Regions from separate parts of the Homo sapiens genome. Here region 2 is linked to region 1. Evidence: promoter capture Hi-C in human tissues and cell types (Jung and others, 2019). All regions are on one chromosome and are shown on one strand. The core of a region is centred on a gene start or on the middle of the fragment in contact, and the rest is flanking DNA. Distances in the headings are between cores, read along the strand shown. Region 1 holds the start of PALLD (palladin, cytoskeletal associated protein). Region 2 overlaps DDX60 (DExD/H-box helicase 60).

Region 1 (2,886 bases), core at 249-2,748:
CTCTTGTCTGGGCCTTGCAGATTCCACTTGGTATCTCTTAAAGAACTTGTCATATTTATTTTTAAACCTGAATAATGATTGCCCTCTACATTTTTAAAAAATGAGGTAAGGAGGTCAAAGTGATTGTACTTGTCCAGTGCAATCCAGATCCTCATTCTATTGTGAAATATGCTATAAGGCCAGTTTTAATATTCAGCTCTAGCAATAACAGAGAAACCCAGAGGAAGAGCTGACACAGAACCCCTGGGATACAGACCCTAATCCATACCAGATTCTAGGATGCCAGAGGACTAATTTATATTCTAGGAATGTGTAATCATGTATTTACAGGGCAGTTAGTGGCCAGATAAACCTCATCGGCCTTTTCTGCTGTTAGCAATAACTTGTCAAAGAGACTTTGATTTTAAAAATCTGAAAAAAAAATCTGAATAATTGAGGTGAGTATTCAAGTTCTTTCTGTGAGAAAAAACATTGGAAGGCACATTTATCATGAAATGAGGATTTAATTTCTGCATATATGTGATTGAATAGATTTGTAATAGTTTTATATTGCCAAGAAATGGCTTTATATGTCACCACATTATTCATACTAGAAGGCAATTAGTATTTTTAGCAAATGTTAATAAGTAATATGAGCCTGAAATCATTTTATGTCAACCTCCTATATTGGATTCAAGACAATTTCATGTGCAACTTAAAACAACATGATAAAAATTATTCTGTGATGTTTAAACTTGACTGGACTCGAGATTGCACTGTGGTTTCCCTTAGTAAGCGTTATCTTATTAAAAATATGTATGTAAATTTTATGCATGAATATAATTTAAAATACCTGCTGTTACTATCCCAACTCATTTAATTATGTCCAGTGAGTTACTTTTAGAATCTTTTGAAAGTGTAATTAACAATTTATAATGTTACTGAAATCTAAGGTCTATCACTTTAAGCCATCATCACTTATCTAGCTTAAATATGGGTGAGGGTCTAGAAAGCTGCGTTTTCCTTTTCTGTGAAACATAACACATACACGATCTTGACAAAAGCTGGCTCCATAAATACATTTAATCCTTTTGGAATTGATAGCACCATCTTAGCATGCTTAAGCTTATAACAGAAAGTGTAATTCTCTGACAGCAAAGGCAGAGATGAAGTGGGCAGGCAAATCTTACGTATTATCTGTTTTTGGCAAAACCGTAACATTCTCATTACGTTTCCTCTCCAAGCAAAAGAATAATTAAGGTATCTTGTAAATAGTATCATATCTTCAGAAAAACTTTTGTATTTTTAGTTTTTTTTTTTTTAAGTCCTTAAAATGTTGCCCTACTAGTTAGTATATTAAGATACACCTTACAGACCTTTTCAATGCTTGGTCAGTTTGAAGACTCCAGAGAGGTGATGAATTTCAGATGAGCATTTCTTCTTTTCTGGGAGAATGGAGGTTGTGGCCTTGCCTATTCATTAGAGACTGCCTGGTCCGTGGTCACTTTGAGGCAACTGTGGCCTCAGACTCTCATCTGTCCTCTTACTCCACTCAGCTATATTTGGTAACTGAGCTCATGTTTCAGCAGACTGCCACGATCAGGAATTCCAGCAGCGGGCTGGGAAGCACCCCCAGGACCGAGGGCTGGGTTCTTAGAAATAAAGCCACTTAACATAGAAGGAACTATATTTATGGATCTGATAAACGTAGGATTTAAACACATTCTTCTATACTTTGGACTTGTAGCTGGAAATCACCACCTGGACCTTTAACATGTTCTTAATCAATTTAAAGTACAGTATGTGACTCCAAGTAGAAAAAGTGATAATCCAAATGGAAGCTCTTCTTACTCTGATCTTCTGTTCTGTGCATTTAAATTTTGGTCATGTGCTAGATTACCCTAAAATAGTAAATTCAGTAACTGAAAATTTAGCCACCTGTCAAATTGAGTGGAAAGTCCCATTGTTCTCTTATTTCATATTGCTAATTAAAAATTGATATATGACTATGGTATGTATTAAAGGCCTTGTCTATAATAGTATTAAATAAGTATGAACACACAGGGACTGGATCTTATCCACATTGCAACATTGAGTTCTTAGCTCAATGCCTAGGACATCATGAGCATCTCTTAAATATTTGTCAAAGAAATAAATGAATGTTGAATGAATAATATTCAGGAAAAGTATCAACCCTCTTACAGTTGCAAAAAATGTTTCACAATCATTTAATATTTTGATCTTTCAAATGACAAATAGATATAGCAAGAGTTTAATATTTTGATCTTTTAAATAACAAACATAGATAGCAAGAAGAGAAAGCTTTTCTGTTTAAAGGTCAGGTAGCAGAATCAAATATAAGGGGGGCAAAAAGAGCAACACAAAAGCTCCCAGTTAACTTGGAAATGGGGTGCTGAGTCTTCCTTTGTCTGGGTAAGACCATCACATTTGATTCAGTTTAATATCTAAATATTTTTTCTTTTCTGATGTTAGAAAATTTGTGAAGGTCTGCTATTGTATTTTCTTTATAGGCCAAACTGGTCCTTTAGAAATGGTCCTTTCTGTGAGTGGATACTTCTGTGGGTCATTTCATCTATTATATTAATTAAGAAGTGATTTTAAAATTTATACTTACGGCTGGGCGTGGTGGCTTATGCCTGTAATTGCAGTACTTTGGGAGGCCGAGGTGGGTGGATCATGAGGTCAGGAGATTGAGACCATCCTGGCTAACACAGTGAAACCCCCTCTCTACTAAAAATACAAAAAATTAGCTGGGCGTGGTGGCGGGTGCCTGTAGTCCCAGCCACTTGGGAGGCTGAGGCAGGAGAATGGTGTGAACCCGGGAGGCGGAGCTTGCAGTGAGCCGAGATCCCATCACTGCACTCCAGCCTGGGTGACAGAGCGAGA
Region 2 (3,188 bases), core at 608-3,107, 250 kb after region 1:
TTTATATCATAATAATGTACTTTTTAAATGTCAATTTATATTGTCTCTATACCATAGGCTGTAGTGCCAGTGCCTTGTCTCAAAGAAGTCATATCATTTGGCACCCATTAAGTATGACAAATAATTTTTTCTTTTTTTCCATCTTCTTATATTATTTTATTTTAAGTTCTGAGGCACATGTGCAGGATGTGCAGGTTTGTTATGTAAACATGTGCCATGGTGGTTTGCTGCACCTATCAACCCATCACCAAAGTGTTAAGCGTAGCATGCATTAGTTATTTTTCCTGATGCTCTTCCTCTCCCTGCCCCAACAGGCCCTGGTATGTGTTGTTCCCCTCCCTGGGTCCATGTGTTCTCATAGTTCACCTCCCACTTATAAGTGAGAACATGTGGTGTTTTGTTTTCTGTTTCTGCATTTGTTTTCTGAGGATGATGGCTTCCAGCTCCATCCATGTCCCAACAAAGCACATGATCTCATTCCTTTTTATAGCTGCATAGTATTCCATGGTGTATATGTACCACACTTTCTTTATCCAGTCTATTGTTAATGGGCATTTGGAGTGATTCCATGTTTTGCTATTGTGAATAGTGTTGCAGTGAACATACACATGCATATATCTTTATAATGGAATGATTTATATTTCTTTAGGCATATACCCAGCAATGGAATTGCTGGGTCAAGTGGTATTTCTACCTCTAGTTCTTTGAGGAATCTCCACACTCTCTTCCACAATGCGGTTGGACTGATTTACACTCCCAGCAACAGTGTAAAAGCATTCCTGTTTCTCTGCAACCTCACCAGCATCTGTTGTTTCTTGACTTTTTAATAATTGCCATTCTGATTAGTGCGAGATGGTATCTCATTGTGGTTTTGATTTGAATTTCTCTAATGAGTGGTGATGTTGAGTTTTTTTCATATGTTGGCTGCATGTATGTCTTTTTTTGAGAAGTGTCCTTTCATGTCCTTTGCCCACTATTTAATGGGTTGTTTGTTTTTTTCTTATAAATTTGTTTAAGTTCCTTGTAGACTCTGGATATTAGACATTTGTTGGATGGATAATTTTCTCCCATTCTGTAGGTTGTTTGTTTTCTCTGATGATCATTTCTTTTGCTGTGCAGAAGCTCTTTAGTTTAATTAGATCCCATTTATCAGTGTTTGCTTTTGTTGCAATTGCTTTGGGCATTTTCATCATTGTATTATTCCATGTTCATGCTGCTGATAAAGACATACCCAAGACTGGGCAATTTACAAAAGAAAGAGGTTTAATGGACTTACAGTTCCACATGGTTGGGGAGGCCTCACAATCATGGCAGAAGGCAAGGAGGAGCAAGTCATGTTTTACAATGGATGGCAGCAGGCAAAGAGAGAGAGAGCTTGTGCAAGGGAACTCCTCTTTTTAAAAGCATCAGATCTCATAATACTTATTCGTTATCATGAGAACAGCATGGGAAAGACCCGCCCCCATGTTTCAATTACCTCACACCAGTTTCCTCTCACAACCCATGGGAATTGTGGGAGTTACAATTCAAGATGGGATTTGGGTGGGGACACAGCCAAATCATATAATTCCACTCCTGGTCCCTCCCAAATCTCATATCCTCACATTTCAAAACCAATCATGCCTTTCTAACAGTCTCCCAGAGTCTTAACTCATTTCAGCATTAACTCAAAACTCCACAGTCCAAAGTCTCATCTGAGACAAGGCAAGTCCCTTTTACCTATGAGCTAGTAAAATCAAAAGCAAGTTAGTTACTTCCTAGATATAGTGGGGGTACAGGCATTGGGTACATACAGCCATTCCAAATGGGAGAAATTTGCCAAATCAAAGGCACCACAGGCCCCATGCAAGTCCAAAATCCAGTGGGAAAGTCAAATCTTAAAGCTCAAAAATGATATCCTTTGACTCCATGTCTCACATCCAGGTCACACTGATGCAAGAGGTGGGCTCCCATGGCCTTGGGCAGCTTCACTTCAATGGCTTTGCAGGGTATAGTGCCCCTCCTGGCTGCCTTCATAGGCTGGCATTGAGTGTCTGTGGCTTTTCCGGGCACACAGCGCAAGCTGTCAGTGGATGTGTCATTCTGGGGTCTGGAGGGTGGGGGTCCTCTTCTCACAGCTCCAATAGGCAGTGCCCCAGGAGGGACTCTGTGCAGGTTCTCCAACCCCATATTTTCCCTTTGCACTGCCCTAGCAGAGGTTCTCCATGAGGGCCCCATCTCTGCAGCAAACTTCTGCCTGGACATCCGGGAAGTTTCATACATCCTCTGAAATTGAGGCAGAGGTTCCCATACCTCAGTTCTTGACTTCTGTGCACTGTCATGCTCAACACCACGTGTAAGCTGCCAAGGCTTGGGGCTTCCACCCTCTGAAACAATAGCCTGAGCTGTACCTTGTCCCCTTTTAGTCATAGCGGGAGCAGCTGGGATGCAAGGCACCAGGTTCCTAGACTTTACACAGCAGACGAACCCTGGGCCTGGCCCAGGAAACCAGTTTTTTTTCCTAAATCTCTGGGCCTGTGATGAAAGGGGCTGCCACAAAGGTCTCTGACATGCCCTGGAGACATCCCATTGTCTTGGTGATTAATGTTTGGCTCCCTATTACCTATGCAAATTTATGCAGCCAGCTTGAATTTCTCCTCAGAAAATGGGATTTTCATTTCTATCCCATTGTCAGCCTGCAAATTTTCTGAACTTTTATGCTCTGCTTCCCTTATAAAACGGAATGCCTTTAACAGCACCCATGGCACCTCTTGAATGCTTTGCTGCTTAGAAATTTCTTCTGCAAGATACCCTAAATCATCTCTCTCAAGTTCGAAGTTCCATAAATCTCTCAGGCAGAGGCAAAATGCTGCCCGTCTTTTTGCTAAAACATAACGAAAGTCACCTTTGCTCCAGTTCCCAACAAGTTCCTCATCTCCATCTGAGACCACCTCAGCCTGAATTTCATTGTCCATATCATTATCAGCATTTTGGTCAAAGCCATTCAAGAAGTCTTTAGGGAGTTCCAAACTTTCCCACATGTTCCTGTCTGCTTCTGAGCCCTCCAAACTGTTCCAATTTCTGCCTAGTACCCAATTCCAAAGTCACTTCCACATTTTCAGGTATCTTTTCAGCAGCACCCCACTCTACTGGTACCAACTTACTGTATTAGTCTGTTTTCATGCTGCTGATAAAGACATACCCAAGAG

What was found. Contacts are between HindIII fragments. The study calls those that stand out against the background at their distance.
Region 2: a fragment that was not itself captured here is called in contact with the fragment with the promoter of PALLD in region 1 in 1 of the 25 tissues and cell types used here (dorsolateral prefrontal cortex).

The regions. Positions count from the first base shown.
Region 1 is chr4:168,495,664-168,498,549 of GRCh38, reverse strand. PALLD (palladin, cytoskeletal associated protein) reads right to left here and starts at 1,498. Exons shown (of 22, transcript NM_001166108.2): 1 at 1,356-1,498. All of the region lies in intron 1 of LOC107986198 (a long non-coding RNA gene), which reads left to right. The HindIII fragment of the contact is 2,790 bases long and covers 107-2,886 here.
Region 2 is chr4:168,241,224-168,244,411 of GRCh38, reverse strand. The region is part of intron 30 of DDX60 (DExD/H-box helicase 60); the gene reads left to right. Among named protein-coding and RNA genes, the nearest start is that of DDX60, 76 kb to the left of the region's middle. The HindIII fragment of the contact is 7,735 bases long and covers 1-3,188 here.